Regions from separate parts of the Homo sapiens genome. Here regions 2 and 3 are each linked to region 1. Evidence: promoter capture Hi-C in 16 types of primary human blood cells and fetal thymus (Javierre and others, 2016). All regions are on one chromosome and are shown on one strand. The core of a region is centred on a gene start or on the middle of the fragment in contact, and the rest is flanking DNA. Distances in the headings are between cores, read along the strand shown.

What was found. Contacts are between HindIII fragments. The CHiCAGO score rates a contact against its expected background, and 5 or more counts as called.
Region 2: a contact is called between a fragment that was not itself captured here and the fragment with the promoter of FAM3C in region 1, in 1 of 17 cell types (total B cells). The highest score is 5.4, in total B cells.
Region 3: a fragment that was not itself captured here is called in contact with the fragment with the promoter of FAM3C in region 1 in 2 of 17 cell types (naive B cells and activated CD4 T cells); the score reaches 5.8 in naive B cells.

The regions. Positions count from the first base shown.
Region 1 is chr7:121,394,532-121,397,889 of GRCh38, forward strand. It overlaps FAM3C (FAM3 metabolism regulating signaling molecule C), which reads right to left and starts at 1,777. Exons shown (of 10, transcript NM_014888.3): 1 at 1,631-1,777. RefSeq lists enhancers at 814-1,399, 1,400-1,984 and silencers at 1,212-2,041, 2,082-2,141. The HindIII fragment of the contact is 3,372 bases long and covers 146-3,358 here.
Region 2 is chr7:121,995,302-121,998,659 of GRCh38, forward strand. PTPRZ1 (protein tyrosine phosphatase receptor type Z1) reads left to right here. Exons shown (of 30, transcript NM_002851.3): 9 at 1,081-1,265; 10 at 2,579-2,705. Among named protein-coding and RNA genes, the nearest start is that of PTPRZ1, 120 kb to the left of the region's middle. The HindIII fragment of the contact is 5,791 bases long and covers 1-3,358 here.
Region 3 is chr7:120,858,524-120,861,881 of GRCh38, forward strand. All of the region lies in intron 1 of LOC124901733 (a long non-coding RNA gene), which reads left to right. Among named protein-coding and RNA genes, the nearest start is that of TSPAN12, 2.1 kb to the left of the region's middle. The HindIII fragment of the contact is 2,773 bases long and covers 133-2,905 here.

The sequences.
Region 1 (3,358 bases), core at 527-3,026:
TCCCATTGGTAATTCAGAGAGGTCCTCAGGTTGAGAACTGCTGGACTGAACTCCTTTTATTGGCTCCAACTCTTCTTATTTCTTCCTATGAAGAAATGCTAGTCTTTATTGAGTTGAGAAAACATTACAAGAATCTGTGAAACAAAGCTTCTAATACCTGTATAAAACTGAAAACCTTGTGACTTTATTGGTAAACAGCCAAGAAACACAAGAGACTACTAGTAGCCTCTAGAAAGAGGTACAGGTCGATGAAGTGACCAAAACCGGATGCTGATTTGCTGATTCTGCCAATTTCTTGTTAAATGGCTTTCAGTAAGTGATTAACTTTTATTTTCTAAATTCAATAGAGATCTGCTGGTACTCTGTAAGATACTGTATGACTAATAGTAACGGTTCCCAAGACTTAAGAAAACGTAACTGCAAATTGGCCACAAGTCCAAGGGGTCGGGGCCTCTGCTATCAGCATTGACCTTTACTCTCGGGAGTTCATATTTCCATCTGTAAAACTAGAAAAGATAAAGGGACTTATTCACTGAGCTGTTGTGAGAATAAATGAGCACACGAAACCATTTGGCAGTGCCTAGTACACAGTAAGCAATCTAATATTATTTATGTCATTGTATCCATATATATATGGATACATACATATATATGGATACATGGATACATACATATATACGGATACATACATATATATGGATACATACATACATATATATGGATACATACATATATATGGATACATACATATATATGGATACATACATATATATGGATACATACATACATATATATATATGGATACATACACCTGGCTAATTTTTTTATTTTTTAGTAGAGACGAGGTTTCACCATGTTGGCCAAAAAGAAACAAAGGAAAAGTCCTATCAATTAGATAGCAGTTCTATATTACAGGCAATAATATTTTTTCTTAAAAAAAAAAAAGGTAGAGGATGATGGAAACCGCTCCTCCCACAAGTAAAACAGCTGGAGCTCTCAATCTCAAATTGCCAATCCGTCACTCACATATTCAGATCTAGGGCCACTAATCATCATCCGTGGTCCCGAGCTGTGAGAGCAGTAGCAAACAAATAGGAAGAAAAAGAAGAGACACCAAACATCAAAGGGCTGGATAGCTTGTAAAAAACCAAAAGTACCTCTAGTATAGGCGACACTAAAACTTTACAAGTGAGTCAAAACGGCCCCCTATGGAGTTGGAATGCAACACCCAACTCCGTCCCCACCTCTCGGAGCTCTCAGCCTACACGCTGCAGGGGCGCGAGCCACAGCCAACCTGGGGAAGATGCGACCCAGGTGCCCGCCCCAGGCCGGGGCGCCGAGTGCCAGCGCCAGGTGCAGACGCCGCCCCGTCTCCGCGGAGCCCGGGGATGCCCACGCCGGGGCGGCGGCCGGGAACCCCGGCCAGCGGCTCTCCGGGACCCCAGTCCCGCCTGCGCCCTCTCCAACGTCCGGACACGCCGTGACAACGCGGCCGGGCCCGGGGCCCGCCCCCGGCCGGTGACCGCAGTGCGCGGAGGCTGAAGTCGTAGGTGGGCGTCTGGCTTCCCCGGCCTCCTCCATCCCTCCCCGAACCTGAGCCCCGGCTCCGTCCGCCTCCCAGCCGTCTCACCGGCCTCCCGCCCGCCTCTCCGCCGCGCGCGCCCGCCTTCCGGCCTCCCAGCGCTCAGTCCTGCCGGAGGCCGACGGGAGCCGCCGCCTCCAGCTCGCGCCTCCGCTTCCTCTCGGACTCCTCCGGCTGCCCCTCACCCCGGCAAGTGGCCAGGAGAAAGCCAGCTCGCCGCTGGGCCTCCTCCCACGCTTCCCGGCCGCGACCAATGGGCCCCCGCCGCCGGGAAGCCGCGCCCGCCCCCTGGCGGTGGAGGACCAAGCGGGCGCCCGGGCCGGCCAGAGGGAAGGGCCGGAGAGCGGAGGGAGGGGTCTGCGGTCCCGCCCACCGCCCCCGGCCAGGCGCTGCACAATCTGAACTTGCCACGTGGGAGCTGCCGCCGCCGCAGCGGCCCTGCGCCGGGTGGCACTACGGGAGGGAGAAAAATGTGTCACCGCCGTCTCCCCACCGTTTACACGCACAAAATCCCAGCCTCAAGGGCAGAACATTTTAAATGACCCACCCATCCTAGAGATGCGCCAGTTAGGTCATCTTATATATCTTGAGATAGCTGAGATGGTCAGATCAACCAAGGACCTTGGGTTATTTGCCGTTTGACTTCTTGAACCCTAGGAAACTGATTCTGAAAATCCTACTGTCCAGCGTCATTAGAATTCTGATCACCTTTAATGCACCACCCAAGAAGAACAGTAGTCCTTGCATTTTCCAAGTCACGTTTATTTTTTAAATTATAAGATACACAATCGTTAGAAATATTTTTTCTCAGGAGATTTCCTACAATTGTGTTGATAATTGGGAAGTTAATCCAAATCTTACTACATAAGACCTTAGAATGCAAAATTATTTCATAATTCAGATCCATATTCTAAAATAATGAATAACTGTTACCTAGTATTTGACAGAATATTGGGATCATCAGTGGTTGCAGAAATTAAATTGCATTTAAAAATAGGGTTTGACTATAGTGTGTTAATATAGAATTAATAATCTACCAAATTTTAGCTTTCCTCCAAAAATATAAAACACACAAACTAATAGTAACTATGAATTCTGGAGTTTGTGATCCGTGATCAGGGGAGAAAGCATGAAATGAATTCTCATTGTCTTCCATGTGCCAATATTATGCTATTTGTGTATTACTTAAATCAAAAAACTAAGACTCCAAAACTGAGTTTAAATATCTTGCTCAAAAATACAAGATAGTAAGTTATGAAGCTGGAATTCCGGCCTAGCTTCATGTAGCTCCAAATAAACAAAAAGGCACTTTGCTTATTATAGTACCAAAAAATCATAACACTTACTGTACACATGCCTCTCCTAGACTGCTATGTCTCACTGAAAGAGTTTATGAAGCCTCTTGAGTAGGGAGGTCACGGTGTATTTCTGAAAGAGCAATCTGCTCTGTAACCGAGCCAACCAGATTGGAAATTACATGTGACATATTCTTATAGCACCACACCTGAAACAATTCCTGTGCATAAAGTTTAATGTGTTAGTAGCCTATTCTCCACTGACCATAAGATATAGCTTAGAACCCTTTGGTAGGTAATGAAATTAATAACAATGGGTCACAACCAACATTTTGTTGCTGTTGATTCACTGAAAAATAGAAAAAAAAAACAGTTCAAAGCATAAATTCAGGATAAGTATTCTTCATGAAACATTTGTACAGCATCATGTGTGGGTGAGTGTCTGTGTGTCTATGTCCTGGATACAGTAGAAATTATATTT
Region 2 (3,358 bases), core at 249-2,748, 600 kb after region 1:
GGCTTTGTAACTTCAGGTGTCACCTGAAAACAAGTAAGTATATTAATTAATATTCAGCCTGAGAGATCTTTCTCTCCCTCTGCTTTGCAAATCTGGCCCATGAAGAGATATTTATTACTCTGCTTCGTTAGTAAAATATCATAAAATGTTATAGTTTTTCTTTTCCAAATTAGTCCAAACTATCACATTATAAGTGCATTTTGGAAAGTACCAGGGCACTCTCTGATGGGACTAAATTTGGGGCATGATTCCCAGCATGGGCCTGAATTCATTTTAAGAAGTCTCTGAATGATTTTTCATAATACTACTTTTTCAGATGAGACAAACAAGTCTCTTAATTCCCTAAAATTATTTTCTTAATTTACTTATGATAACAAAATGGGATTTTTGTCAGCACGTCTGAAAAATACTGAAATGGCAATTTTAGGTTTTCTTTGGTTTTCTCTGGTTGGGAATTTTAAATTAGTTCAAGGATTGTCTAATAACAAAATGTTCCGATAATAGTATGTCTTTCATAATTGAAATTATCCTCATCCTGAACTGAATATATTTTCAGGTACCAAACAAGAGAAATTAAGTCATCATGAGCTTGCAGATATTCTTTGTTCATTTATTTCTAAAAATGAATCTGTATGCCAGGTATATTCAAAACAATGTTCTAGGCAATATAGAACTACAGAGCTATGGTTCTTATGTTTATAATCCACTAGAGGAGTCAAGATTCATTCAGGAAAAATACAATACGAAAGTATGCAAATAATGCAGTAATAATGATAAAATAGGCAATTGACAATGACAGAGATCACTTCAGTAGAGATTAATGTGAGTAATGAAGGAGGTAGCATTTGACCAAGACCTTTCCAGAATGGAAAGCTGGGATTTGAACAGATAGAGTTAAGAGGGGTGGAAAGAGTATTTTAGATATAGGAAATGGAATAAGCAAAAGCTCCACAGTGGGAAAGTGTAACTTTTTACTTTACATTGAAATAAAACACAATAAAATTTTTATAGAATATGTTTTATTTATTCAAGTCCTCAAGGCTAAGTTCTATCAACAACTGTACTTTTTTCTCTCTGAAGTTTGTAGTTCAGAACCAGAAAATGTTCAGGCTGACCCAGAGAATTATACCAGCCTTCTTGTTACATGGGAAAGACCTCGAGTCGTTTATGATACCATGATTGAGAAGTTTGCAGTTTTGTACCAGCAGTTGGATGGAGAGGACCAAACCAAGCATGAATTTTTGACAGATGGCTATCAAGACTTGGTAACTATATGATCAGTTGTTTTACATAGGGTAACATTATAATTTAATTTCCAAGGTAAGAACTTACAAATGGTTGTATATTATTTTCCTCCATTACTTTTAGACTTTATGTGAAGGTGGGGTAGGCTGAGTATTTTTAAATTTAAAAAAAAATTTTAAATTAGAAGCTATACTAAATTATGTTTAAAGTTACATTTAATTAAATGGATATCATAACTTTGCCAACAATAACACTATAGAGTAGATACATATGACTTATGAACTGGAGATCATTTAGTGTGGCCTTTCTTAAGATTTCAGTTGTAGAATAGTGCCAGAATCTCAGTGCCCTGATACATTTTATATTGTGTCTTCCATTACGCTATATCAGCACAGGAAAAGTAGAGTAGGGGACATACAAGTCCTCTTTGTTGCACCAAAAAATTTTCAGATAACAGCTGGGAAGTCATGATTGGGTCAGAACTTTGGGGATGTAAGAAAACATTTCTTACAAAAAGATCCACCCCTGCCTCCCTCCACCAGCGCATGCGAATAAAGTACAGATTCCCTTTGTGGCCTGAGCATGTCAGTATTAAACTTTGCTCTGGTAGGGAAGTGTTGGCCATAGATTAGGGTGTAGTTGACAAACCTTCATCTGGATGTAGGTCCAGAAAGTCCCCACTGCAGGTTAAAGGACACTGGACTCTGCACTCAGGCACCTAGAGTCCTGCAAGTCCTGGGAACCTGCATTTAAATAAAAATGCACTATTAATTATGTTTCATATCATGTGGACAAAATGGATAAAATTTTAGTAACCTTTTAATTCAGTTGCCTGGAATATGGAGACACAATGACCTGGGAAAATCGTGAAATAAATAGTAATAAAAATGTTTATTTCATAATTACGTGAAGAAGATAATTCTATTACTGTTCTTGCATATATATTGTCAAGAAAAAGAGATAACTTAGTTGTTCACTTTTTCACATTGCTCCTTGTTTGCAAATGCCCCCCATTTATTTGTCTAAAATATTAATTTTTAGTTTGTAGTACTAATTTATGAATTTGATGAGTTCTGGCTAAAAATGAAACTTCCTGAAACTAAATCTGATTTTTAAAAAGCAAAAAAAAAAAAAAAGCCTAGCTTTCCAGTTCTTCATAATTCACAAATACCACAAGTTTAACTAAGCAACATTGCATAAACTTTTCCTTAGGTTAATAAAATAGAAGTATTTTCCACGGACCAGGGAGAAAAAGTTTTCTAGGAAAGATACCTAGTGTGTTGGTAGTCCTATGAGAATAACATTTGTATAATTACTAACATCTTTCTTTTAGGGTGCTATTCTCAATAATTTGCTACCCAATATGAGTTATGTTCTTCAGATAGTAGCCATATGCACTAATGGCTTATATGGAAAATACAGCGACCAACTGATTGTCGACATGCCTACTGATAATCCTGGTAAGTGCCACCAGATACATCTATATATTAACTCAATAAATGAGGTTAGTTTAATTACTGTATGCATTGATGCTTTCTCTCTATATTCTTTTGGCCAAAAGGCAAAGTGATTTTCTCTTAAGTCTGGATTGCCGGGTAATTTTTTGGGGCATGGGACCCATTTCTCATTCAGCAGGTCTGGTGCCAGACAATAAGTAAACTTATCCTTAATATTGGAGTTTACCATTTGTAAAATAAGAGTGACTAAACATATTTATAACATTGTAATAATCATTAAATGAAAATTGCTATGTAAATGTTGAGACTGTTATTTTGGATAATTAAGAGTTGGTTTAATTTGTATTTATTTCCTCTTTTCAGCCCCCAAAGCATTATGTAGTAAGTGTATACATGATCCTAAGACCATGTGAGGTACTTTCAAATATCTATACAAAGCATCTCAAGAGTTTGTCTTAGATCTATTTTTCTACTTTTTATAATTTGGTTATGGGGAGTGGGGTGTTTTCCTCTTGGTTGATTGCCCTTACTCTTCCCAAAAATAAGACAAACAAAAGTTGTTTCTACTTGTGTTTTATTTGCATGTACCTTCTCTAAATGTATGGGAAAATCTTTTGATCTTAGAGCATATGCAATAACTGAATCAAATGCTGACC
Region 3 (3,358 bases), core at 269-2,768, 540 kb before region 1:
TTTTTTTTTTTTTAAGTTCTTTCCCACTTTCATAGTGCACTAATAGCATTTACGGAAACATCAGAGTAATCATGTGCAGTCTGACATGCAGAAGAGGAGGAAAGAACATTTTTAACTCTTAGAAGTAACTCAAGCTTTCCAAAATTTCTCACGATAAGATTGTTTTGAGTTAACTGGGTGATTTATTTTGAAATGTGTACATAGTAGTGGATCTTTGGAAAATCTAATTTTTTTAAACTAGAAATTCATGAAGTATTACACAGCAGGAGACCATCCTTCCAAAAGAATCTTCCCTTTTAGAAGACAGAAGTTTCACACTAAATAAAATGCCACTGGATCATATCCTCCACATAAAATGTGGATGTGTTGTGCTATGCCTCACAGTACTGCTCATTTCTAGGATTACTTTTGTGGGCACTGCATGGCAAATAAAACTTCACCAGCAAATATGAATTACCTGGAATACGAGCAACATCTTTGACCTAATAACTGGAGTCCTTGGATTTCCTTGCAGAAAAAAAAAAAAAAAAAAAAATGGAATCCTATGTCCATGACTGCCTGTCTAGAGTTAGTTGCTGCATGACTGGAGTGACAATAAGACATGCAGTCTCATATGGAAAAGTCAAGACCAAAAGACAACATGGTTGTCCTGGGTTAGGCTAGGAAAATTATTGGTAAGCAAGTCACTAAGCAGTATGTAAGACAGCAACCCAAAAGAGTATAAAGAAGTATAGCCATACACAAAAAAAACACCAAGAAACATGTCCAGTTATCCATCAGATGACTCCAACTCTGATAATGAAGCAGCTTCTAGAATACTGGGGAAGAGCAAAGAAACCCACTTTTATCCTCTGCCAGTTTCTTCTCAAATTAGGGTGCATGCCTATTTTAAGCAAAGGACTGCTGAAACAACCAGCCATCCAAATGCTGTTGGTGCCATACATTCCCCGGAGAGGTATAAACATCCCCGCATTGAAAGGAGTCCATGACTGCTATTAAAACTGAGAAAAAGAGTGCCAACAATTCCCATGTGTCAAAGCAGAGATCCTCTTCTACTCCTAGAAGGTAGTTAAGTGCCCTTTCCTTAATTCGTATACCTTTAAGGGTCAACTGCCTTAAAGTAATAAAATACTAGAGGAAGTTACTTTAGAAGTATGCATGTCCTCTTCTTCCTGGTAAACAAGAAATACAGATCCAAGATAAAGTAGTTGCTCAACGTCACATCTGTAGTCCAACCTAGATTCCAAAGTAAAATCCAGAATAATGGCTCTTAGTACTCTAGTTTAATGGTTCTCGAAATTGTTGTACACGAGAATCACTTGGAGAGCTTTGAAACAACCCTAATTCTCTGGCATGCCTGATACCACTTAAATCGGAGTCTCTGCAGGTGAGGCCTAGACACACAGGGTTTTCCAAGCTCCCAAGGTAATTCTAGTTTGCAGCAAAATTTGAAAACCCTGCAACGAGGGCTTTACAGCTGCCTAAAAACTAGCAAAAGGGTCTCTTTAGATTTCGTTGGATCAAATCCCTCTCCTGTGAGTCGATAAATTGGGATTATTATCCCCATTTTACAAGTTAAGAAGAAAACAGAGCTGTAGTTACTGCTCTAATATTCCTGATAAATGGTCATCAGAGACAGTGAATCAACATTTCAGTAGAGGAGACCTCACCACATTTGAGACATTGCAGTAATGGGCAGTTTTTATTGCTTAAACTTGACCATACCACCTTTTAACTTCTACCCTTCAACCTTAGTTCCGCCCTTGGAGTCCATGGCATGAGCAAGCCTTCCTCCCATATGACAGCCCTTCAACTACTTGAAGGCAGCTGTTCTTCCCTCCCTCTCCAATTCTTCTCTTTCCCAGAATTGTGGAAGCACAGTAAGACTTCACATCGCAGCTGTCATTCTGAGGGTTCTATATTTTTCTCTGTGAGATCTGTTTTTTTGTGTGTGTGAACAAAAGGAGGATAGAAATATCATAATATGCACATAAAAATTTGAATATGTAATAACATATTAGGAAAATTGTATGGTCTATTTACTACCCATTAGTCAGGAACCCAATTCTGTGGCCAGGTGTTCTCCAATAAGTATCATTTCAGTGGTGGTATCTACTGTGCCTCATGCTGAAGATACTAAGACAAGTTCTTACCCTCCAAGAAAAGGCAAAACTATCCTTTCTTATTATATAATAATAATAACAATAATAATGACATCAAAAAGTAATAAAATAAGCATTTACAAGGAATCACATACATGTCAGTCCCAGTGTCAGGAGTAAAACTCAGCTATATGTAAGAGAATACAAGTTCCTCACTCCGTATGGCAGCTTGTTTGTTCATATCTTATTCTATTCATTCTGCTAAAGTTGTGGAGAGAAAAAGGATAACACAGGAGTTTGGATGTATGAGTTGCTATTCCTTCTTAGTACAAGACCCTCACAAGTACTCCTAAGCCAGTACTTTACAATTAATATGGGATAGACACCTAATGTGTTTTGAACAAATTACATGTGTCTGACATAATAGGTGCTTCTCACAATTTATCTTATTAATTCCTCATAACTATATGTTGAGATACTTGAAATCAATTCAGATAGCTGATTTTTGCCAGACCCACACAGGTAGTAAATAAAGAAGCTGAGATTCTAAGATCTGTCTGATTCTTTCCACTGTTTATCTGCATTACAATAAAATTTCAAATCTGGTTGGACAAGACTTAAGAGGAAAATTTTCGAACTTTTTAAAGTTAGTTTTCGAGAATATGAAGCTGAAATTCAAATATGTGTACTTAAACTATGACTGGTAAATCTACTTTCACCTCACTTCTAAAAGAGTATACAGACCTAATAAGACCTGAGAAAATCCTTTCATTACTGAATTAAGTAGACTGCTTTCTACTGTAAGCTTAGGATTGCCAGATAAAATACAAGACACCTCATTAGATTTAAATTTCAGATAAACAACAATTTTTTATTTTTTGGTATAGGCATGTCCCAAATGTTGCATGGGACAAATATTGCACTGGACATACATATACTAAAAAATTATTCAATGTCTACCTGAAATTCAAATTGAATTGCAAACCCTACATTTGTATTAGTTGAATCTGGCCTCCCTATGCAAACTAGCAAATGCACTCAAAGAGCCACAAAAACAAATATGTTTCACATAACAATGAGTCCAGGAATAGCGATTCATCTGCCCAGTAGTGATATCAAGGAATCAGTTCTTTTTCCTCCTTACTCTCCTGACACACACAATGAGTAATCATACTATACTCAGGTACCTCCTCTTATGGTCACAAGATGGCTGTGCAAATTCAAGCATCATTTTCAGTTACCATTACTTCCAAAGG